Linked DNA regions of Homo sapiens: regions 1, 2, 3, 5, 6 and 7 are each linked to region 4. Evidence: promoter capture Hi-C in 16 types of primary human blood cells and fetal thymus (Javierre and others, 2016). All regions are on one chromosome and are shown on one strand. Each heading gives the region's core, a stretch centred on a gene start or on the middle of the fragment in contact. The rest is flanking DNA. Distances are from core to core; before and after follow the strand shown. Region 1 has its middle 47 kb from the start of NXT1. Region 2 has its middle 170 kb from the start of SSTR4. Region 3 overlaps NXT1-AS1 (NXT1 antisense RNA 1). Region 4 holds the start of CD93 (CD93 molecule). Region 5 has its middle 160 kb from the start of LINC01747. Region 6 has its middle 160 kb from the start of SSTR4. Region 7 overlaps NXT1-AS1 (NXT1 antisense RNA 1).

Region 1 (3,119 bases), core at 582-3,081, 220 kb after region 4:
CAAGGTATCTACTCCTACCATGAGGAGAGTCTGTGCATTTGGGACCTATATGAGGCTGTCCCCCAGGGGGACAGAGAAACAGGGGCAGCTATTTTAAGAGAAAGGTCCAGTGACATGAACCGCAGTAGAATATATTCCATGAACTAAAATGCAGCCACATGGAAACATCATTAACTAACAATGGGCCACAGAGCTAGACATGGTGGCCCACACCTGTGGTCCCAGCTACTTTGGAGGCCAAGGCGGGAGGATCACTTGAGCCCAGGAAGTCAAGACTACAGTGAGCCATGATCGCACCTCTGCACTCCAGCATGAGTGACAGAGAGAGACCCCATTTCCAAAAAATAATGTGCCACCGAGACCAAACTCTCAATAGTATGAGCATGAATCAGGGATTTCCATACAAAACACTACCAAACGTGAGGGCACTTCCTGAGTCTGAAGTCTCGTGTTGCATCCATGAGCACAGGTGCTCTTCATGCTGCGTTCTCGGTGGAGAGTAGGGAGGTGGGCTTACCTCCTCCCCCTCCCTGCCGCCCCCCGCCCCCACTCCCTACCACCATTCCCCCGCCTACTCCAGCTGCTTGTCCTGAACCAGGGCATCACAGATCCAGGCAGTGCTGCCTCACCAGGGCCTGTTTGTCTTGGAGCCAATGGGCTGGGGTGAGGACTTGCTGGGCCAGGGCCTCTGTGATGTGCTAGGGAGGATGTGGCTCTGGGGCTCAGTCTTCCAGTAGACATCAAAGCCCCCATTCTCCCTGCTGACAGGGTTGTAGGGAAAGCACACTGCAGAGAGCTAAACAAATACAGGGGCGGCAGCCAACAGCAGAGAGACAAAATTCCTGCGGCACCTCTGATACTTCCTCCTACCTCTCTTCCCAGTAGTCCTTATAAAGGAAAGTAGTGTGTACAGGGTGGCGATGATGGAGAGGTTGAAGGAAAGTAGTGTGTACAGTGTGGCGATGATGGAGAGGTTGAAGGAAAGTAGTGTGTACAGTGTGGCGATGATGGAGAGGTTGAAGGAGAAGGGACTGACGATAGCTTCTCAGGGTGCTTCCGCAAGTCCGAGCAGGAGTCGCTGCTAAGACCCCAGGGTCCCCGGCAAGGAGCCCTCTCTGCCGGCTTCTGCAACACAAGCCCCAGAAGCTGAGCATCAACATTTCCAAACTTCTTTCTAGGTGCTGACTTGTGGCTGCATTCTCAAAATTATACACTGCATGTGCCAGGCTGCCTGCACATCTGACTTGTTTTCAAATGACAAAGAATTCAGTGACCAATCAGGAACCTGTTGTCCTTCTCCAGGGAGTGGGTAGGGGCCTCACATTCTAGTGCACCTGGCGCAGAAATGACTGGTGATGGGAAAGCTGATCTGGACAAGTTTGACCCAGGAAGGCAGTGATGGGAGCAGCCTCTACGTAACCTAACTTGAGCTCAGACTCTCTCTTTCTCTTTCTCTCTCTCTCTCTCTCTCTCTCTCTCTCTCTGTCTGTCTGTCTCTCTCTCATTCTCTCTCTCCAGAAGAGCAGTGGGAGGCCTTCAGCCCCTTTGGCTCTGCTGAGGCGTTCACACTGAGGCCCCACTCACCCAATATGACTGAGCATGGTGGGGGACTACAGCCAAGCCATCTGCCCAAGGCAGCACCCCACCAGTGAGCAGCCTGTGCACCAGGGTCCCCCCGCGGGGCTGGCTGAGGATTTCTCAGCATTTCCTACCCATCCCTCATCCTTCACCCTCTCCTTGTCCCAGGGTCAGGCTACACAGCATGGTTCCCCAGCAGACCTTCCACAAGTCACATTTCATCTTGGCATCTGCCTCTTGAACCAATGCATCATCCAAATTTACCTTGAGCTTCTCTAATGATAAGAAACTCACCAGGAAGCCTGTTCTGCTTTGATGTGATTTAAAGTTTTCTTTCTTTCTTTCTCACTCTTTCTTTCTTTCCCTCTCTCTTTCTCTCTCCCTTCCTTCCTTCTTTCTCTCTCTCTCTCTTTCTTTTTCTTTCTTTCTTTCTTGCTTGCTTGCTTTCTCTCTCTCTCTCTCTCTTTCTTTCTTTCTTTCTTCTTTTTTTCAGATGGAGTCTTGCTCTGTCACCCAGGCTGGATTGCAGTGGTGCAGTCTCAGCTCACTGCAACCTCTGCCTTCTGGGTTCAAGCAATTCTTGTGACTCAGCCTCCCGAGTGCCTGGGATTACAGGCACGTGCCACCACACCCGGCTAATTTTTGTATTTTTAGTAGAGACGGGGTTTCACTATATTGGCCAGGTTGGTCTCGAACTCCTATCTTCAAGTGATCTGCCTGCTTCAGCCTCCCAAAGTGCTGGGATTACAGGCGTGAGCCACCGTGCCTGGCCTAAAGTTATTTCTTACTGTATCATTGTGATGCTGGCAGAAAACAGATTTCTACTCAGAGGGTTCAGATGGGAACCTTTAATGGAGGGGCACTTTTCCAGGTGTGAAAGAGACAACCAGGATGACGAGCACCCGGGATGGGCAATGCCTGGGAGCTGTCAAAGCCTTACGCTGCAGGGCAGGGCTGCTTGGCGTTACTGCAGCCTAGAGAGGTGGGGCCATGTGGGTGCAGGTGCTGTCCCCCAGGGTCTGAGGCAGGGAAAGAAGGGCCACACTGTCCCCTCTCCCTGCTGGCCTGCTCCCCCTGTTCTTCGCACTGACTGTGCCTCATGGGGAAGGCAGTCTGCAGGAGCACTGGGCAGAGACAGTGCCCTGGTGTACAGGGACAGCCAGAGTGAGAAAAGCATCCCGCCTCCCCAACAGCATCCTGCCTCTGCAAAATCATCTCGCTTCCCCAACAGCATCCCACCTCCCCGACAGCATCCCACCTCCCCAATGGCATCCCGCCTCCCTGACAGCATCCCGCCTCCCCGACGGCATCCACCCTCCCCGACGGCATCCCGCCTCCCCGACGGCATCCCGCCTTCCCAATGGCATCCCGCCTTGCCTGCCTCCCCACCAGCATCCTGCCTCCCCAACAGCATCCCACATTCTCAAGAGCATCCTGCCTCCCCGACAGCATCCCACATTCCCGGCAGCATCCCATCTCCCTTCTTTAAGACCACAGGTGTGATTCTGGGCATCTCCTTTGCTGCTGTTCTCATCTGGAGC
Region 2 (3,327 bases), core at 10-2,509, 230 kb before region 4:
TGGGGCTCCCTGGGGGCTGCTGGGTATTTGGTGCACTGGCTGGTGTCCTCTGTGTACTAATCCACTTTCAGACAGTCTTTCTTATTTTGCATGTCATTGTTGTGCCTGTGGAGGGAGTGGTGGGGAGAAGCATGTGGCCTCAGGAGGGGCTTGCATCAGTCCTGCAAGTCTGAACCTGAGAACCATCCTTGACACTTCTCTCTCTTTCATCCCCCATATACCATCCATTTCTAAATCCAATCACTTTTGCCCCCAAATAACTCTGAATTCTCTCCCCTTCCCATTACATCCACAGTTATTTCCTAGTCAAAGCTGCAATTATTTCTTACTTGGACCTTGGCACATTTCAGGCACACACATTTTCTCTTCATCCCCCAGCTTAAACCAGTTCAGTGACTTTCCATTTTCCCACTGTTAGACCAAAAGCCAGAATCCTTGGCATGGACAATGGCCTGGGTACAGCCAGGATTTGTTGCCAGCCTGGCCTCCCTCGTTCTGCTCCCTACATCTCTGTGTTAGCCACACTGGCCTTCTCACAGACTCTGGAGCATACCGTGCCATCTCCCACCACAGGGCCCTTGCACATGCTGTTTCTTCTGCCTGGAATGCCCACTCCATCACATCCTGCACAAATATATTGGCCCCACTTAATTCTGTACATGTTTAAGAGCTCAGGCCTAAGCTTCACTTCCTTAGGGAGTTCTCTATCCAATGGATTCTACTCCAGTTTAGACCAATTGCCTTCTCCCTCTGTGTAGTAATGATTGGCTTAATATTTGTCTCCACTAGAGTAGAAGCTCCATGGAAACAAGACCCTCACCAATGTTGTTCTCCACTATGTCCAAGAGGCCCAGTACAGTGGCAAACTCATAGCAGAAACACAATAAAATAGGTGTTGAATGAGCAAATAATGAATTAATTGGGAAGTGGGAGTAGGGGATCTTGGGTTCTAGTCTTTCTTTCCCTTCCTCCCTATCTCTCTCTCTCTCTAACTCAATGAGCAGTATAATCAAACTAGGTAACAAGTAGAAGGGGTAAAAATACAGGGCTTGGGTAGTAAGAGCTGCAAGACATGGGACAGAGAAATCCATAAATGTCCAATGTATGCAGGCAACCGAAAAGCCCTCAGCATCTGACATTTCTCTGAGTATGGCAGAAATCTAAAATGTGTCAGTGGCTTGGCCCCTGAGCATTTAGATTTTTGTAGGCTACCACACATTTGGGCAAAACTACTTCCAAACTGCTGGGCCATGTATAGATTACTACTTTCCTGGCCTGCTTTTAACATTTATTTGTAGGAGGCAAGACTGAGCCAATGGTCCTGAGGGCCCCACGGTAGGCCACCGAGGGCTCAAAGAGTCTGGCGGCACCATTGGCTCATGTGCATACCCAGCAAACTCATGTTCTTGCATCCAGCTTTGGAGCTGGTGGGAGACACTGGATAAGGACTCTGTTTTCAAGGAACAACCACTGTGAGCTAGCTTAAGTCGAAAGGGGAAATTTGTATCTCCAGACTTGAGACCATGTCTTATAAAGGATCAAAACCAAGCACACAGCCAGGGCTGCCTCCCTCTGGACATCTTATTTATTCTCTCTGATTTTAGAGAGCTTTGGTGGGTGTAAGATGTGACCCTGCTCCTTCCATTTAAGAGACTTGCCCAGATTGGGCATCTGAGTCCCGTCCTGAACTCTCAGAACAGGACCCCGACAGGCGCAGCTGCATGAGGGTCCACATACAGCCCAATGAACCATGGCCAGGGTGGAGAGGTAACCATGAGCAAACCACAGAGCTCCTCAGATCCACTCCTGGAAGTTAAGGGGGCTGATGAGCTGGTGGCAAGCTTGGTAAACACGCTAAGAGGCTCTGACAGTATGATGCCTATCTTTGGAATGAAGGGTCTGTACTGAATGTTAATAGAATCAGCAGTGGGAAACTCCAAGTAAGGATGACCGCCTTTTTACGACATATCATCTGGTTTATTGTACTGTACACGGTGAGTGCATTATACACGGTATGAGACTGGAAGTCCCTGTGGTAAGAAACTACGTGGTCTGGTGTTCTAACAAATAACAAATATTCTACTGGGGCTCAAAAATAAGTAATAATGACATCATCTCCACGGCTTTTTCATTACTGACACTAGCATGGAAGCTATTCTTCATGGCTTAAGTAATCCCCAGTAATCAAAACAAGGCACCATCTTGCTGAAGAACCCATTTGCTTTGCTGCTGGGGAATGTTGTCATGTGAGGAACTGAAGCGTAATGAGAGTGACTCACAAAAGGGTTTCCACACGGAGAGAACAGGCCACCATCTCCAGCCTTCCTTTTGTTTTCTATGCCCATAAATTTGATTTTATGCACCTTGCAGGGTTCATAGCCACCTGCATTCTCTTTCCATTGAGGATGCCCTCTGCAATCCTGGTCCTTAACCCAGAGAAAGAGCGCAGGAGTATCAGGAGTCCGGATGAAGTCTGAATTATCAGCAACTGAAAGTTGTGGTGTCAGAACACAGCAAGGCCGGTCATGAAGCTGGAGCAAAGAGGGTGATGTCACACTAGTGCGTGCCGACTATGAGCTACACCGACTCACACAGGCCTCTTTTATTCCAACAACAACCCCTCGAGGTCAGTATTAAGTTATATAGCAGCAATGGGTAACCACTGAGTCATTTAATGCACAGATGTAAATTTGGGGACAATTTTTCTTACAGTAATGTGGGGAGCAGATTCAGCAGCACACACACTGGAGGCAGAATGTTTATGTTCTGCAGAGCAAAAAATAAAAAAAAAAACCCTTTCAACCATCAAAAGACCAGGCAAGTCTTGCTGATTTGCAGGACAGAGGGGCTTCTGGCAAGATGTGCCTGGAGCCAGGGGAGCGGCGCTGAAGCCTCAGGGATGCGCAGGGAGGGGCAGGATGTGGTGTGCATTGCCCTGGAATCATGTTCCTGAGCCTCATCAAGGAGGAGCCGGGTTTCCTGGAGCAGCCGCCCCTGTGATGACACGAAGGAAAAGGATATGATCAATATCCTTTCTGAAAAGGATGGAAAAACGGCACCCTCCCCTGGACTCGCACACATTTTTTTCTAGCTCAGCAAGAAAGAGTGAGGTCCCCTCAGCCTCTGCGCACATCAGGGTGACAAAGGTGGACAATGTCTGGTTCGCCTTTCACCTTCAAGGCCAATTCTGGGACTTACAGAGTAGGTGTCAAAATTGTATTTTAAGACAAATGCACTTGGTACTGATGTGCTTAATGGCTCCATTTTAGACATTTTCCACAATTCACACTCACACCTGAGGCAATCAGTATAGAAAAATCTTGGCAG
Region 3 (3,131 bases), core at 284-2,783, 260 kb after region 4:
CAGCCTCTGCTTCCACTCGAGGCTGGGGACAGAAGAGAGAACCACTTGGCCTGTTGCTGACAGCTGCCATCCCCCATCCCCATGAAGACAGGGCCCTCAAGGAATGCAGAGGGCAAGGCTGGGGAGGCTTGGGGCATGGCCAGCTCTCCTGTCAGGGTGCCCCTTTCCAACTCAGCAGGGATGAGAATCCTCATCACCCGGAGTGCCCTCCAGGGGCCCACAGCTGGGAGCAGGAAGGGATACTGGGAATATTCCACCTGGGATGACACTCTGATGTCACGGGAGAAGGGGTAGGGTCGTGGGGAGGGGCAGGATCTTCTCGATGCCCCCACCCCTCGCTGGTCATAGGCACTGGCTGGCAAGAACGGGCTGCCTGGGGCCTTGCGCCGGCACCCTGAGCTGATCCCCCACATGCCATCGCGGTCATCCCATTGTACACTGTGCATTCATCGCCTCGGAACCATCCCGGGACAAAGTGCCAAAGTCAGCCATTAGACCAAAATGCTCACCAGGAAGCATTTTTGAGACAGTACCTCAGAATTTGAAATAGAACCACACTAAAAGCTGTGCTGCTTTGGAGAGGCAGAGACCTCTGCTTTCCCAAACCGTTTCTAAAATATCCTAGAGAAAAACAAAAAAGCCTCTCTGAGCAGCCACCTGTCAAGACAAAGGAGATTATCTTGGACTTTTTAAATGCCCTATGTTTGATATAGGGAAGGAACACTTTGGTTTCTTGATCAGAAAAGGTGTCACTCAGATCCTGTCTACAACGCAAGCAGAGCGGCTCTTGTCAAAGGCTAGACCACCCTCGTGTGGCTGCTTCTGTGAATGGCAATTCAGATTTGAAGAGCAAGACAGATCAGACAGCTTCAAAAGCGGGAAAACTGGCTGGGCGCAGTGGCTCATGCCTGTAATCCCAACATTTTGGGAGGCCGAAGCGGGCAGATCACCTGAGGTCAGGAGTTTGAGATCAGCCTGGCCAACACGGCGAAACCCCATCTCCACTAAAAATAGAAAAATTAGCTGGGCAAGGTGGCACATGCCTGTAGTCTCAGCTACTCGGGAGGCTCAGGCACAAGAATTGCTTGAACCCAGGAGGTGGAGGTTGCAGTGAGCTGAGATCACGCCACTGCACTGCAACCTGGCAACAGAGCGAGACTCCGTCTCAAAAAAAAAAAAAAAAAAAGGAAAACTAAGCTCAACAGTCAAGGCTGAACTAATTGCAGAAGAGTGTAAAATAATAATTTACTTCATTAAAAAAGCTGCAGAGCACTTTTCAACCCAGGCTACTTTTATTCTCTAGTCAAGAGCAGTTGTTTTCAAAGTGTGGTCCCGGCTTTCCAGTATGACTAGAAATTGGTTAGAAATGCAAATTCTGGCCTCCCTTGGCCCTGCTATGTCTGAAACTTTGAAGCTAAGGCTCTGGCACCCTAGTGTTAGCAAGGATTCTGACGCTCCCTCACTTTGAGAACTGTAGTTTGCATTAGATTTGTTACTGTCTGGCACCAAAAGAGAGCTGTTAGCCAAGGCATTGACCCTTCAAGGGACCAGGAAAACCCATCTAGACATTCTTCAGGTGTTTCAACAGTGAGAGAAAGTCCTTTCTTTGCTCCCTAGCTTAGACAGAGTCCCCAGCAGCAGCCCCTGAGACAACAATTGCACTGCAAGCCACTTATTTGAGAGGTGATCCCAGGGGCACCTGTTGGGGTATGGGGATGTGAGGTAGGGCAGGGGGAAGCCAGTACAGGGGCAGCACTGCAGGTGCCTGGCTCAGTCCCTGGGGAGCTCCGGGATGATGCGGGGTGTGCCTCAGAGATGTCCTGCCTGAGGGACTGGAAGGGTTGGAACCCTCCAATTCCCATCTGTCCTTACTGAAGGATGCTCTTGGGTGTTAACTCTGGGCATTCCTGCCCTGCCATGAGTAAGGTCCAAGACTGTGGCCAGAAAACCCTGGTCTGGAAAGGAGTGAAGAGGGTATCTCACTGTCTGCTCCACTCAGCTTTCCCAGGCTGCAGGGGGAGACAAAAAGTGCTTGCCGCTCACTTCTGAGCTCTCAAGACTCTTTGATTCCTTATTCAAAGCCCACTCATCAATCAAGGCCTCTCTCAAGTCCCATCTTTGCCAAGCACCTCAGCATCTCCCACTTGGGAGCAGCCTCTCTCCGCACACAGACCAGCCCTCAGATCCATGCATCACTAAAACGTCTCTGCTGATGCTGGGCAAACCAGGGCCTCGCCCTGGGCCCACACGGCCTGGCCGAACACTGGGGAGAGAGCGAGAAATGAATGCCACAAAAGGGGCACAGGAATGTTCAGAGGGGGGAACACCACAGACCTTTCCACAAAGTGGGATGGCTGTAAAGAGAAGGTGGCATCTGAGCCAGTCCCTGAAGGATAGCGGAAATGTGTGCAGAAATGGGGGCAAGGTACACAAGGCAGAGAGGGCAGCCTAAGGACTGCGGCAAGCAGCATGGATTCCGCGTGGCCGAAACATGGCACGGGGGAGAATGGTGGGAACCCAGCTCATGTCTTATTATGGAGGGCCTCGGGTCTGGGACCCTAGTCTAGGATATGGGGAGCTCACAAGTAGGGATACTGCAGAGTGAGAGTTGTGCCCCAGGCAAGTCCCTTTGAGGAGCATGTGTGTTTCAGGACCAGAAAAGTCAGTGACCCGTTAAGAGAGGAAGAGAAGATGGGAGTGGAGTTGGGGTAATTGTGCCACAAGAGCTGCACCCACTACTCAGGCATTCTTCAGGTATCCACATGCCAACATCAGGGAGCAGGTACCCTGATTTTACAGGCTCAGAGGGTTAGATCATTCACAGGAGGTCACGCAGGTCTATCTGACTCCAAGTTCGCATGCTCTTTCTGCTCTATCCACCAGGATTGTTCAAATGGCCCCAGAGAAAGACAGCTGAGCCCAAACTCCAGACCCACAGTAGGAGCTGCAGGGGCATAAGCGACTCAGCAAGGCTGAAGTAAGTGTGAGCCTCAGAGCATGAGAGGAATGGCTGGCCCCAGCCCCCAGTCCTGAATCAGGAGGAAGGGACACAGACACTGGCCCCAGCCCTCAGCTCTCAGAGTCAGGAGGAAGGGACATATGGCAGCTAGGAGACAAAGCATCTAGAAGCA
Region 4 (3,120 bases), core at 58-2,557:
ACCCAGAGCACACTCATCCACATCCTGACAGGCCCCCTCTCCAGGACCGCCCGGCTCATAGCCAACCCAGCATTCGCAGCGGAAGCCCCCAGGGGTGTTGACACACTCCTGGGCACAGGGGGAGTCCTGGCATTCATCCACGTCCACACAGTCCAGCTGACTCGAGTCCAGCTGGTACCCTTGGGGGCAGCGGCACGTGTAGTTTTTCCCATGGGGTCCCAGGACGCACGTGGCCCCCCCACGACATGGGCTGGAGCTGCAAGGGTTTCGAGAGGCACAGGTCACCAGGTCATCCAGCAGCCGGAATCCTGGTCGGCAGCCGCAGAGGAAGGAGCCATCCCCCCCTTCAAAGCAGTCCTGGTGGCAGCCCCCATTGTTGAAGTTGCAGCCATACTTGGGGCTGACACAGAGGGGGCCCGAGCTGCCCCAGTCGAACACATCGGGGGCCTTCTCCTTGCACAGGAAATAATGACTCTGAGTCTCGTCCTTGTCACCTTCCCCACAGGCTACATTGGCCGCAGAGGCAAAGGGCACAGCCTCCAAGGAGGAACTGGTGGTCTGGAAGGGGGTGGTGTAGGTCACCTGACCTGGGCCCCCCAGGGCCAGAGGCCGGCACATGCCTTTGAAGCTGAACTTGCACACGAAGCCCTCAATGTTACTTCCGGGGGAGCCTGGGCTCCCACAGGGGCCCTCAGACCACTTGGGGAGGCGGCTGGGAAGGAGCGGCTGGGACAGGTCCAGCAGCAGAGACACACAGCGCTTGGAGATGCACGAGTTCCGGAGCTCCTTGTGCCAGTTAGAGTAAGGCGTGTCCTCCCCCCCGCCCACCCAGCTGAAGCCCTTCAGCGGCAGACTAGGGTCCAGGCACTTGCCCTTCTCTCGCTGGAGCCCAATCCAGAACTTGCTCATCCTCGCCGTCAGGGCTGCCTCCCGCCTCAGGAGCTGGGCCAGTACTCGCTGGACGTGCTGGGCCTCCTCCTTGCTCTTCACAGTGGCCAGGTTGCCCCCGTTCTGGTTGCAGTGGTTCTGGGCCTCGGCAGCGCTCAGCTTGCCCGAGTGGGCCGTGTAGCAGGCGGTCCCCACGCAGACCACCGCCTCCGTGTCAGCTCCCGTCCCCGCCCCGGGCTGGGTCAGGAGCAGCAGCAGCAGCAGCAGCAGGCCCATGGAGGTGGCCATCCCGGTCTCTGTGTGGCCCTCTGCGGGAGGCGAGAAGCCCAGCGGCGACAGGAGCTTCTATCTCGGCTCCCAGCTGGGCCCCAAGGGGAGCTGAGGGGTGAGCTGCAGCCACTCCGGCGCAGAGAAGGACACAAAGGCTGAGGGCTTTCCACGTCCCCCTGACCCAAGGCGCATCCTGTACTGTTGTACTTCTTATTTCTCACCGGATGTTGGGGCTTCCTGCAATGAATAGTTCTCTGACTCCTGCTGCCTTCATCACGGTGCTGTTGTTCATAAAAGGAGTCAGGCAGCTCTGCCGGGTCCCTGGCTCAGCACTGTGGAAACAGCGACGGGGGGAAGACGTTACAGCCCCGAGATACTGCCGGCTTGATTTTGGCTCCATTCTCTTTCTCATGGCATGAGGAGCCTCGGAGGCATGCCATGGAGTGAGCAGGGGCTTTGGGGGCTAGGAACTCGAGGAAGCTCCCTTAGTAACCCATAATAAAATTCCACTTTGGTTTGCAAACCACCAAAAGAGAAAAAAAAAATTCTGAGACTTAAGACACAAGGCCATGGATGGTTATAATTTTCAGCCTTTTTTAGAAGCAAACTGGACTTTCCTTTTGCCTAGCTCATGTTCTCTGTTGACTTTGGGAGCCTTTTTTCTTTTATCCTCCCATCGTGAACCTTAAATAGACAGGCATTTTTTAAATAGGATACGGGTCGTGGGAATGTCTGGGTTTTCAACATAATGCCAAGCTCCTCGATAATGTTAATCCAAATTGGGTGAAATTTGGCAGTTCTGGGGGTTTCATAGTGGAAATATTGCATTGTGAGGTGTCAGGGTCACAAAAAGCATCAGAAAGAAAATGAAAATGTGTCCGGCCTCGTGGCGCAGGGCTTGCAGGCTCACTTCCCCCGGCTCAGGATTCCTAGCAAGGGCCGGAAATCTGGGCAGGGAGCGGGAATCGAAGCCCGGGCAGGCCCTCCCGCGACACCGCGACTCGGCAAAAGCCAGGGACTCACAGTGTGCTTTTCCTGCAGCCACAGACCTTTGCTCATTGGTTGGGATCCCCCAGGAGGGGACCCTGAGACAGGATTTGGGGAGACTAGTTTATGTGGGAGGGGAAGTGAAACAGACAAGGAGGAAGCCAACCCATGATGACTTGCTGAGAAGGTGACCCTGGGCTGCTGGAGCCAGTGCCAGGAAACTCTGGGGGCCTGAGGGGACCACACCTCAGCACCATCTCAGCTGAGGGAGAGGCTCCACTGCTCTCCAAGTCCCCTGTCATTGGTAGCAGGCTGTATCTCTCACTTTGAGAGACTGACTATAAATTCTAGCCCTGCCCAGTGACCAGGGGTCTCTCTCACATAAAACTTGTTTCTATGGACAGACACCCTTGTGGCTCTCGTCTGACCCATGTCCAGTTTATTCCTATCAAGACAGCCACTTCCTAAGAGATCCCTGATGGGAGGAGAGTTGGGTTGGGGTGTGGGTCAGGGGAGATGCAGGAGGCAGCACAAGAAGACACAGGAAGCAACACAAGCACCGTGTCACTTACAGATCCCAGGGAGAGGGCAGTGCACCCCACGGGGCCAGCAAAAAGTGGGGAGCTGTCTGGGTCACAAACACTCACCTGGAGGGGGGTGAAGGGAGAGAGAGAGACCTGGGTCCTAAGCCTTTATTGGGGTCCAGGACGTTTCCCAAGCAGGTTTCCCAAGGGGACTTCTCACTGGTGGGTTTAGAGCAAACAGACACGGGCTCCGTGGGGTCCCTGTGGCTGAGAGGTGGGCATGGCGGCATGTCTGGGAAGTCCCTGTGGGGTGTGGAGTCACTGAGACCATCAAATGGGCTGTATCTGCCTGTCCCACAGGGAAATGGTCACCAGGAGGTGGGTGTACAAGGCAGATATCTGGGTTGGCCGCATTGAGGAACTGGGAGGGGGTGGAGCCCTAGACACCGTG
Region 5 (3,510 bases), core at 604-3,103, 240 kb before region 4:
TACTATCCATTACACTTTACTGTTAAGGCTTTTCAACAGCTATTGAAGGAACTGACCCACTGTAATGTCAAGTTTTCAACAACATAGGAAGAAAATAAAGAAATGCTAAGGAAAAATTGTTTTTGCTGCTTATAAATAAAAGTACAAATTGATATTAGAAGAAAAATGCTATAATAGATAACGAAAAGCTTTAGTGAGTATTAAAAAGGAAAAAAAAAACAAGGTGTAAGGAAGAAAGAGCTAGGAGAAAGCAGGCTGAGCTCATCAGGCCTGCTGTGGTAAAGATGTAAAAGTTTGCCATTTTGAAGAATAAAAATATGACTTTATGGTTTATATCCTGAAATCATATGCTCTATTACACCATCAGTTTCTTTCTCACTGAGATGAGTGCTCTTTTTCCTTACAATAAGTACATTTTTCTTTTTATTTTTACTAGGATCCAAGACTTCAAAGAAAACCTATAAATTTAATAAAGTTTCTCCTGAAACCTACAACAAAGAAAACAATGACAAAGGAATTGCCCACAATTCTGTGACTCCCAGTGAATACCACAGAAGAGATGGCCACACTGGGCTCTGCTACCAGTTTTTAGAATCGTGAGACAATGCAGTAGTAGAAAGAAAACTAAGAAAATCAAGTTTCTGGGCTGCTATCTGCCTGTTTCAAGCCTCAGATTTTGCAAATATCTATTTTATAGAATCAGCAGAAGCAAGCCAATAATGTCTTTATGCAGTCTACTTGAAAGCAAAAATAACAAAGACGCCAGTCAATACTTTGAAAATGATGTTTATACTAGCCTGGGACTCATTGTTTGCTATGTTTATTAATACAACTAAACAAGAAATCCTCTCCACTTAAAGGCAGCACAGAGAGGATTTCATGTTGAAGAAATGCCCACAGTAGTGACAGTACAACTTGCAGAGGACTAAGTCATCTTTTCTCACATGCTGAGTCCTAACACCTAATTATCAGCTAACACCATTTCTGATGTTTTAGCATAGAAACCTTTATTATCTTAACACTGGATGCTAATAAGACATTGTTAATTTCTAAAACAAACAAACAAACATGGACCTAAAACCTGACTTCCCTAGGAAATAAAAACCCTTTCCTTGAACACCACAGACTCTACAGAGTACAAAGTGCTAGCAAATCATAAGCATTCCCTTATAAATATCAAGATCAATATTGAAGTAGCTCAGGATTGTACTTGACAGGATTTGAGCTTTATTGGTGGAATCTTAAGGTCTCCCACAGTGGTTTTTGGTGTTGATAAAGTTGGCATTTATTTATGACTTGAGTCCTTGCCTGGGGGCTGCAGTCAGAAGCAGCAGGATTTTGTCTAAAGCCAAAGACTTCCTTCATCCTCAGAAAGGAAGCAAGGAGCTGTTTTTCCTCTTCTCATTTGTCCTGCAACTGTGAATTTGTCTCTGGGGCTCCGCTCTGTTGACTTTAGAGAAGCTATGCATACACTTGGTCTCATTCTACTCTAAGACTAAACTGCAAACACAAACCACTCTATAAATTGGGAGATTAATTTCTTTTGAGAAGGCTCAACTAAAGTACCAAGTCTGCTTGTAGGAATAACCTTTAAAAATCAAACAAGCAATTTATAAAAGTCAGAAACCATACCCGGAAGGGTCAGTGTTCTGTTTTGTCTTTAATAGAAAATGCCCCGGATCTGGCAGAAAAAAGCCTTCAAAGGGCTCCCATTATTCCGAGGATGTTTTTATGGCAACATGATCAGCTACATTTCCAAACCTTCATGAAATGATGGCAGGTGGTCTTTCTAAGTAATCTTCAGCACATTCTCTGTTTGCTGAATTACCAGTAGACCCATGCAAGGGATTTTGGACAAAGAGCCATTTCTCATCTTGAATTACTCAGAAATGGAAAATAGTACCTTCTGTTCCATTTTTTTCCATCCGTGCCATCATTCACACGTGAAGTCGAGGGAATGCTCACCTGCATGTTTCATGGTGGAGCTAAGGACCTTGGAGGTTTATTTGCAGCTCCTTAAATAACAAAAACACTGAACCTTTGCAAATAACTCTACAAGCAGCTCACTGCCAAATAGCAGCCACTGCGCTTCTAAGCAGTGAGATGCGTAGATGATGAGAAGGGGCTTCCCTTGCCCAGAATACCCACCCCAACTGCTGTCTCCCATATGGGGGCCCTTCTGCTTCTGGCTCTCATCTTACTTTCCTCCTATCCCTCCTGCCACTCCTCTCCTCCTTCTCTGTTCTCCCCACTCCACCCCTGATGGCTCTGGAAAGGAGAAGTATCAACACAAGAGGGCACAGCTGATGGGCAGGGAGAAGGGACTCCTCCTGACACACAGCCATGGGCCTGGAAGATTAAGTCAGGCCCAGAAATACCACCCAGGAGATTGGAGTGGATTCTACGGGGACTCCCAAATGGGCCCTAACTGAGAATGTCAGAAAACTTGAGTGATCATATCATTTAAAAGGAGTGCCCTTAATAAGTCAACTGGGGTAATGGTTTCATAAACCTGGGCATCCCTCAGCAAAACAGCACAGACAGGGGCTCCTGGGTGGGAAGGGTATGTGGTATTAGAAAGAGCCCAGATAGGGGAGCTAGACAGCCTGGCTCTGTCTCTACCTTAGACTCTGAGACTGTTATTGACAAGAAAGAAATGCTGCATGAGATCACAAGAGAAAATTTTAGAGAAGTGAAACGTAATACAAACACAAGGCACAGCTCTAGAATTTTGCTACAGCCAAAGTCCTGGATAGTAGGGCTGGGAGCAAGGTGGCTGGATGGAGTTGGTTTTACAAGAATCACAAACATCTGTCAAAATGTGACTGAATATGGGGCCCTAAATATGTAAATTAAACACGTAACAAGCCACAGAGCATGGGTGGCAGCCTGCCTATGTGCACTGTCTACACAAATAGGCTTACTCAAATGGGAAAAGCATGAGATGGCAGCGAGCTCATTGGCAAAGTGACATCTTGAAAGTGATTATGCAAGAATACCTGGACATCCGGCCTGTCACATCCTCATCACCACAGCAACAAGAGCTGAACTTTCTCAGGCGCCTAACATGTGCCTCACACGTGCCATCTCATGTAATGGGGCAGGATGGAGTCACAGAGCCAGGGACATGATTGATTCTAACAGGCAGTGTGATCAGGTTCTAGGCTTGCTCCCCCAGTCCAGGTGGGCAGTGGAATCCACAGTGGGACATTCACAGGGACATAGCAAGAGCAGCTGCTCTGGAGGAAGTGAAGAGGCCAGCGTCCCTGGTCCAAGGCAAGTCAGGAATCAAGGAAACAGAAGGAAGAGGGTTTCTCAGGTGTGCAGGGGAGGAGCTGTCCGTGCGTAGGTTCCTGTTCATGTTCAGCTTCTGCAATTGCAAGGCACTCCTGACTTTCCTGGGTGGCACACAGTTTTTTGTGACCTATTAGCAATGAAGTGGAGGAAAGCAAAATTGGAGGTAGACCCTGGGTTACTAGCACTGGCTATGCCTCAAGTTTACTTTTGTGA
Region 6 (3,173 bases), core at 170-2,669, 210 kb before region 4:
CGGCCCTCTCTCTTCAGACCCCTAAAACAGCAGGGCTGAATTTTCTGGACTGAAGCAAGAATTCTATAAGTAGATCATTAGCAGTAACAGAGAGGATCCATTACTGCTGTCATCTCTTGGCTCCTAAATGTGAATTTCAGCTATGGGAGAACCAGTACTATATATTGGTCACTGGTCTAGAGCATCAGGTCCTTCAGTAGGATAACCCACCAGCCCTCAAGGTTTTTGTCACATGGCTGTATCTTTAATGGAGTTTTAAACAGGCAATTTCAGTATTCATTCAGGACAACTTTTTAGGGTGATGGGGTACATGGCAACATAGCAATAATGATGCCCAATCAACCTGTTTTCTTTTCTTTGCCTTTCTTTTCTTTTCTTTTCTTTTCTTTTCTTTCTTTCTTTTTTTTTTTTTTTAAACGGAGTCTTGCTCTGTCATGCAGGGTGCAGGCTGGAGTGCAGTGGCATGATCTCAGCTCACTGCAGCCTCCACCTCCTGAGTTCAAGTGATTCTTTTGTCCCAGCCTCCCGAATAGCTGGGATTATGGGCACACATCACCACACCTGGCTAATTTTTGTATTTTTAGTTGAGACGAGGTTTCGCCACGTTGGCCAGGTTGGTCTCAAGCCCCTGACCTCCAGTGATCCACCTGCCTTGGCCTCCCAAAGTGTTAGGATTACAGGCATGAGCCACTGCGCCCAGCCTCGACCTGTATTCTTGTAAAAGAGATTCCCTGATCAGAAGCAACATGAAGTGGTGTCCAATGGCAGTAAAGAAGGCATTGTATAAATTCACAGATGCTGGATGCTTGAAAAATCTTAATAATCAAAGAAGAAAAATCCATGTCCAGAATAAGTGTCTATTTCTAGTAAGGAAAACATCACCAACCTGCCACATTGGAAAGGACTGTGTATCAGTTAGGGTCCTAGCAGAAAACAGATGACATCCCCAAGGGTTAAGGAAAATTTAATAATGGGCCATTTACAATGGCATGATTCAGGGTGCGGAAAACTCATAAAGATAGGTTCAGCTGGGGAGATGTTACCCACTTGGGCCTGAGGTTGGGGAGCAGCAAGGAGCAGATACAGAGCTGGAGCACCTGCTTATACAAGAGGCACCCACCATGGGAGTGCTGGCTTTAGATAGAGGCAACCTTTAAGGGGGGACCTGGGGAGTGAAATCCTCTGCTCCACTCTGCTCTTGTCCTCAGCCCTCCTTCTTGTGTTCACCATTAATCTAAACCACCTAGAAGTCCGAGGATAAAGGAGCCTGCTGAGTAGTCCCCATGTAGTCTCCATAGGTCAGCCTTTGGCGTCACGAGCATGTTAGAAAAGGCACAAGTCAAGTAGTGAGTGGTAAGTGGAGCTGGAGGTCTACATAGAAATCATCTACTCCACCCTTTTCGCTGGGCAGCCTCCATCCCATCCTTTTTCCAGATGAAAGTTCCTAACACAAAAGACACACAAATTTCCATCGGCTGCCTATTAAGCAGGGGATGTCAATAAGATTATCCTCCCTTCTCAAAACTTAACAATTAGCTTTCACCAATACTTTCATATAATATTTCAAGGGGAATGCATAAAAGAAGTAATAATCGGCATAAATCACAGCTGCTCTAGTAACCCCTTTTGTAGCTGGGCATGAGGCCAGGGTTGGTGGCAAAGGAAGCTGTGTTCAGATGCCCCTAGCTGCAAGACAAGTCTGCCTACAAGAAGGAAGACTTCGATATGTAGATTTGGAGTGTGGTTTCCTTCACCCATATTAGGAGTGTGCACGTGGAAGATGCAGTTATTAGGAATACAGGATCAGAAGGCCCAAGGTAAAACACTTGCCCTTCCCCAAGGAATGACTGCTTCATCCAAATACTAAAAAGTCTCATGAAACAAAATCATCTCCAAAGGGAGCCTGGAATGAAGCTACTGGGCATTGGCCAACTTGCTAGGACTGCTGGAAGAATGGTGCATGGGGACAGAGGTGGACATTTCACTCAGGTAGGGGGAGCTATCACCTGTGGTCAGAACCCAGAGACAAGGGGCAATTTCATCAAGACCAAATTAAAACATTGAGTTATGTTTGGTTTGCAGCTGGATGGAATTTTATATGAAGTAACCCAGTCCATTGACCCTAAAATCAGACCTGGGAATGAAAAGTAGAGGGACTGGAATGTTATGTTCAAAAGTCCCCCTTCCTTCATCCCTCATTATCCCCATTCTCTAATACACTCCTTTGACAAGTAATGGCTTTGCTCCAGGAGGGAGGGAGCCTGATCCTAACTGATCCATCACATTCAGAAGAGGAGTCCTACCCAGAGTTAGGCCTCTTTCCAATTAGCCTGGAGACTGGACCTCATCACTAGAATGTGTCACTGGGATAGGACAATGGCAAACACACGTCTTGAGAACAGAACTCGTATAGTTAGGATTAAAACTGAGGGTGGTGGAATATCTGATCAGTCCACAGACTTGGGTATCAGTGTCCTTCAAAAATCATTTGGGGGCAATTAGGACATCCTTTTCTCTTGTGATTACCAGATACATGTGACTACCAGAAGGCTGGAGAATACACGTTTAGCTGATGTAGACATACTAAAGCCTGAGGACTTTTGCAGAGAAAGCCCTGTCCAGATGATGATCTGATTCAGAAAATGCATACCCACTCCACTTAGACTGAGTAAAATATAGAGCTAGTTCAAGTCTAAAACTCTGTCCTTCACCTAAGGAGATAAAATCTGACCGGGTTCTGTCCATCTTCTATTTTTAAACTGGCCAAAGAGGTAGGGACAGAAAGTAACCAAGTATCCACAGAAAGAGTTAGGAAGAGCTAATCTTAGACAGAGACAGGCTGGTGACACTAGCCACATCTGAGTAGCTAGCACCAGTGTGGAGATAGCAGGTCAGATGGGAGCTGCAATGGAAGCGTCCAGCTTCAGGTAGCAGTGCAGGAGAACTCCTTCCCAAGCCTGTATTCATTGTCTAAAGCTGCTATAACCAGTTACCACAAATTCATGGCTTAAAACAACACAAATTACATTTTATCATTCATAAATTCAAAATGGGTCTTGCTGAGCTAAAATCAAGATATTGGCAGAAGTGCATTTCTTTCTCGAGACTCCCAGGGAGAATCCTTCTCATTAGTATTTCCAGTCTCACAAGGCCATCCTCTTTCTTGGCTGGTG
Region 7 (3,432 bases), core at 104-2,603, 230 kb after region 4:
TACTCAGTAAATGTTTGTTGGGTTATTGATCTATTTATGGAAACACTTGTAAATAACTAAGGACTGATGATCCTGAAAGCAAAATATAGTCTTCCTCCCACTTCTCCTGAACTTGAAGAATCTCACAGAATTCTGTATTTATACCAGCAGCATATGATATGATTTGAATCCTGTTATTTCATGAGATGTTTAAACCAGACTTTCTCAATCTCAGCATGATTAACATTCGGGGCTGGGTAATTCTTTATTGTGTGGTATTGTCCTGTGCATTGAAGTATTTTCTAAGTAATGCCCCTGACATCTACTCACTCAATGCCAGCAGCACCCCCAGTCCCAGTGTGACCAGCTGTCTCCAGACACTGTCAAATGTCCTCTGGGAGCAAAATGTCCCGCCTTGAGAACCACTGATTTAGAGCAATGACCCAGAAGAACTAAATATTTATTCAAGAAAAGAACTCTGAATTATTTTGACTCAGATCTGCAAGAACATTTTTATCTATTTTTTTTTTTTTTTGAAACAGGGTCTCACTCTATCACCCAGACTGGAGTGCAGTGGCATCATCTCTGCTCACCACAACCTCCCCACTCCCAGGCTGAAGCAATTCTCCTGCCTAAGCCTCCTGAGTAGCTGGGATTAGAGTTGCATGCCACTACCACTTGGCTAATTTTTGTATTTTTAGTAGAACGAGTTTCACCATGTTGGCCAGGCTGGTCTTGAACTCCTGACCTCAAATAATCCACCCGCCTCAGCCTCCCAAAGTGCTGGGATTACAGGCCTGAGCCACCATGCCCGGCCTGCAAGACCCTTTTTCAATAAAAATTGGCCAGCTGGAAACAAGATCCCAGACTCCACAGTGATCTGGTCCAAGCATCCTGGTTCTCCACGGTTGTTGTGTCTTCCTCCCCATAAAAGCCAGGAGCCCCTCTCACGCTGCTTATTTGTTCCGGCATTCATCTAGCTGAGCACCTGTTGCACATCAGGCATTGCTCTGAGTAATGCGGATAAAGCTGCACACAAGACGGAGGCTAGCCCAGCCTCAAAGAACTTTCCCTCTAGTGGAGAGGAAGGGGACGGCACACAAGGAAATGAATATACAACTTCAGTGGGAAGTCCACGTGAAATGGAAGAGTTCCCTGAACCTCCTCACATGACACGCAATAGGGGTGTGGCTCATCTGTTTGGCCACCTCACCTGTGCAAACCCCTTACAGGAAGGGGAGCATGCAGACAAGCAGGTGCAGGAGCCAGGGCAAGCACCTTGGGGCTCCAGCCCCATGGTAGCTTCTAGGGGTGGGTGCCTGCAACTCCCAAAGCCCAAGTAGGCATGTGTTACCATGCATTCTTTTAGCTGTGCTGCCTGCAGATAGCTTAAGTGTTAACCAGCTCAGTGCCCTCATGGTACCTAGGTCCTTGTCCGGCATCCAGGAAGAATCAGGTCACACACAGACTTGAGGATGGTGAATGCAGGGTTTTATTGAGTGGTGGAGGTGGCTCTCAGCGGGATGGATGGGGAGCTGGAAAGGGGATGGAGTGGGAAGATGATCTTCCCCTGGAGCTTGGCTGTCCTGCAGTCTATCTCCTCTCTGACCTCCCCCAGCTGAATTTCTCTTGGCGTTCAGATGGTCCCTTTCTTCTCTCTGCCATGCCATTCTGCTGTTCTTCTGTTCTTCTGCTCGTTCCCTCGTCTGCTTCTGAAGCCTAGGGTCTGGGGTTTGTACAAGTACAGGATAGGGGGGCACAGCAGGCCAAAAGGCAACTTTTGGGCTTGAAAACAGGAAGGGCTGTTCCCATTTAGGGCCACGGGTTTCCAGGCTTGAGGGTGGGATCTTTGCTGGGGAACCGCCCACTTCTCAGTATTTCCCTGTCTCCTGTCCTTATCACGTGTAGAGAAAAAAGGCACTCAGCTAGAGAGGGATGGGGAAGGTGTGAGCTGTTTTAGGTAGGAGGGTCAGGGAAGGTCTCTCAGATGAGGTGACATTTGAGCAGAAACTAGGATGAAAAGAGAAAGCCAGCCCTGTCAGCGTCCACTGCAAGAACAGCTAACCTCTAACCCTCAGCCCTGGGAAAGGCGCAAACACAGCTTGCTCTGAGAACAGCAAACAGGGCACTGGAGCTGAATTGGTGTGAACAAGGGTACAAGGGGGAGAAGATGAGGTGGGGAGATGGAAGGTGCATGCCATGCAGGGACTTGGCTTTGATTCGATTTTGGCTTATAGTCAGAGTGAGCGGGAAGCCAAAGGAGGGTTTGAGCTGGGGGGGACTGACAAGTTTCTAAAGAACCACTGTGGTTGCTATGTTGGAAATAAAAAATGAGGGGGTTGGGTAAGGGCAGGGGCAGGAAACTATATCAGAGATGTAGCTAATTAGGATCAGCTGCATGGGGCCAAAATTCCCAAATAACAATGACTTCAGTAACACAGTTGCTTCTCTCTCTAATGTAAACCAAGTATAGAGATAGGCCGATTGAGGCTGGTAATGGAGACCTTAAATTTTCTTCCAGCCTGCTTCCCCGCCATCCAACATTGCTGCCTCACAGTCCCAGAGGGTGGTTCAGTCCCAGCCAGCACGCCTGCATTCCAGCAAGCTGCTGTAAGGAAAGGTCAAAGAAGAACCCATTCTGTCCTTTTAAGTGTATTTCCTAGAAGTCGTATAGGACACTTCTGTTTATTTCCTATTGGCCAGAGCTCCAGGGGAGGCTGGCAAATGCAGGTCTGTATTCTGAGCTACCATGTGCCCTCCCACTTCAAAATAATCGGGAGTTCTGTTCCTAAGGAAAAAGGGGGATGAATGCGGGAGACCATTAGCCATCTTTACCTTGGAGAAGACTGCACCAGTCCAGGTGAGAGATGATGGAGGCTCAACTGGGACGGGGAGAGTGGGGGTGGGGATGAAAAAGAAAAAAACTTATCTGAGGAATATGAGTCTTTTTAAATGTCAAACCCACAACAAGCATGTTAAAAAAATGGTTAACATCACTAATCATCAGGGAAATTCAAATTAAAACTGCAATAAGGTATCACCTTACTCTGCAAGAATAACATTAAAAAGTCAAAAAACAATAGATGTTTGTGTGGGTGTGGGTGAAAAGGGAATGCTTATACACTGCTGGTGGGATGTAAATTGGTACGACCTCTGTGGAAAACAGTATGGAGATTTCTTAAAGAATTAAAAGTAGATCTACCATTCGATCCAGCAATCTCACTCCTGGGTTATCTAAACAAAGCAAAATAAATTATTATATCAAAAAGACACCAGCACATGTATGTTTATTGCAGCACAATTCACAATCACAAAGATATGGAACCAACCTAAGTGTCCATTGACCAACGGGTGGATAAAGAAAATGTGGGATGTATGTGCCATGGAATATACTACTCAGGCATTAAAACCAACAAAATAATGTGTCTTTTCCAGCAACTTGGATGGAGCTGG

What was found. Contacts are between HindIII fragments. The CHiCAGO score rates a contact against its expected background, and 5 or more counts as called.
Region 1: a fragment that was not itself captured here is called in contact with the fragment with the promoter of CD93 in region 4 in 2 of 17 cell types (neutrophils and monocytes); the score reaches 6.5 in neutrophils.
Region 2: a contact is called between a fragment that was not itself captured here and the fragment with the promoter of CD93 in region 4, in 1 of 17 cell types (neutrophils). The highest score is 8.2, in neutrophils.
Region 3: a contact is called between a fragment that was not itself captured here and the fragment with the promoter of CD93 in region 4, in 6 of 17 cell types (neutrophils, endothelial precursors, monocytes and 3 more). The highest score is 9.8, in neutrophils.
Region 5: a contact is called between a fragment that was not itself captured here and the fragment with the promoter of CD93 in region 4, in 1 of 17 cell types (neutrophils). The highest score is 6.6, in neutrophils.
Region 6: a contact is called between a fragment that was not itself captured here and the fragment with the promoter of CD93 in region 4, in 1 of 17 cell types (neutrophils). The highest score is 5.6, in neutrophils.
Region 7: a fragment that was not itself captured here is called in contact with the fragment with the promoter of CD93 in region 4 in 4 of 17 cell types (monocytes, neutrophils, endothelial precursors and 1 more); the score reaches 9.3 in monocytes.

The regions. Positions count from the first base shown.
Region 1 is chr20:23,301,897-23,305,015 of GRCh38, forward strand. No RefSeq gene overlaps it. Among named protein-coding and RNA genes, the nearest start is that of NXT1, 47 kb to the right of the region's middle. The HindIII fragment of the contact is 4,186 bases long and covers 1-3,119 here.
Region 2 is chr20:22,859,202-22,862,528 of GRCh38, forward strand. No RefSeq gene overlaps it. Among named protein-coding and RNA genes, the nearest start is that of SSTR4, 170 kb to the right of the region's middle. The HindIII fragment of the contact is 1,159 bases long and covers 681-1,839 here.
Region 3 is chr20:23,339,892-23,343,022 of GRCh38, forward strand. All of the region lies in intron 1 of NXT1-AS1 (NXT1 antisense RNA 1), which reads right to left. Among named protein-coding and RNA genes, the nearest start is that of NXT1, 9.3 kb to the right of the region's middle. RefSeq lists a silencer at 733-782. The HindIII fragment of the contact is 6,381 bases long and covers 1-3,131 here.
Region 4 is chr20:23,085,017-23,088,136 of GRCh38, forward strand. CD93 (CD93 molecule) reads right to left here and starts at 1,308. Exons shown (of 2, transcript NM_012072.4): 1 at 1-1,308. The coding sequence starts at 1,176. RefSeq lists enhancers at 1,292-1,471, 2,999-3,120. The HindIII fragment of the contact is 6,182 bases long and covers 1-3,120 here.
Region 5 is chr20:22,839,904-22,843,413 of GRCh38, forward strand. No RefSeq gene overlaps it. Among named protein-coding and RNA genes, the nearest start is that of LINC01747, 160 kb to the left of the region's middle. The HindIII fragment of the contact is 3,335 bases long and covers 187-3,510 here.
Region 6 is chr20:22,876,725-22,879,897 of GRCh38, forward strand. No RefSeq gene overlaps it. Among named protein-coding and RNA genes, the nearest start is that of SSTR4, 160 kb to the right of the region's middle. The HindIII fragment of the contact is 5,211 bases long and covers 1-3,173 here.
Region 7 is chr20:23,319,505-23,322,936 of GRCh38, forward strand. The region is part of intron 1 of NXT1-AS1 (NXT1 antisense RNA 1); the gene reads right to left. LOC105372571 (a long non-coding RNA gene) reads right to left here. Exons shown (of 3, transcript XR_937379.3): 2 at 2,815-2,861; 3 at 1,449-1,705. Among named protein-coding and RNA genes, the nearest start is that of NXT1, 30 kb to the right of the region's middle. The HindIII fragment of the contact is 8,680 bases long and covers 1-3,432 here.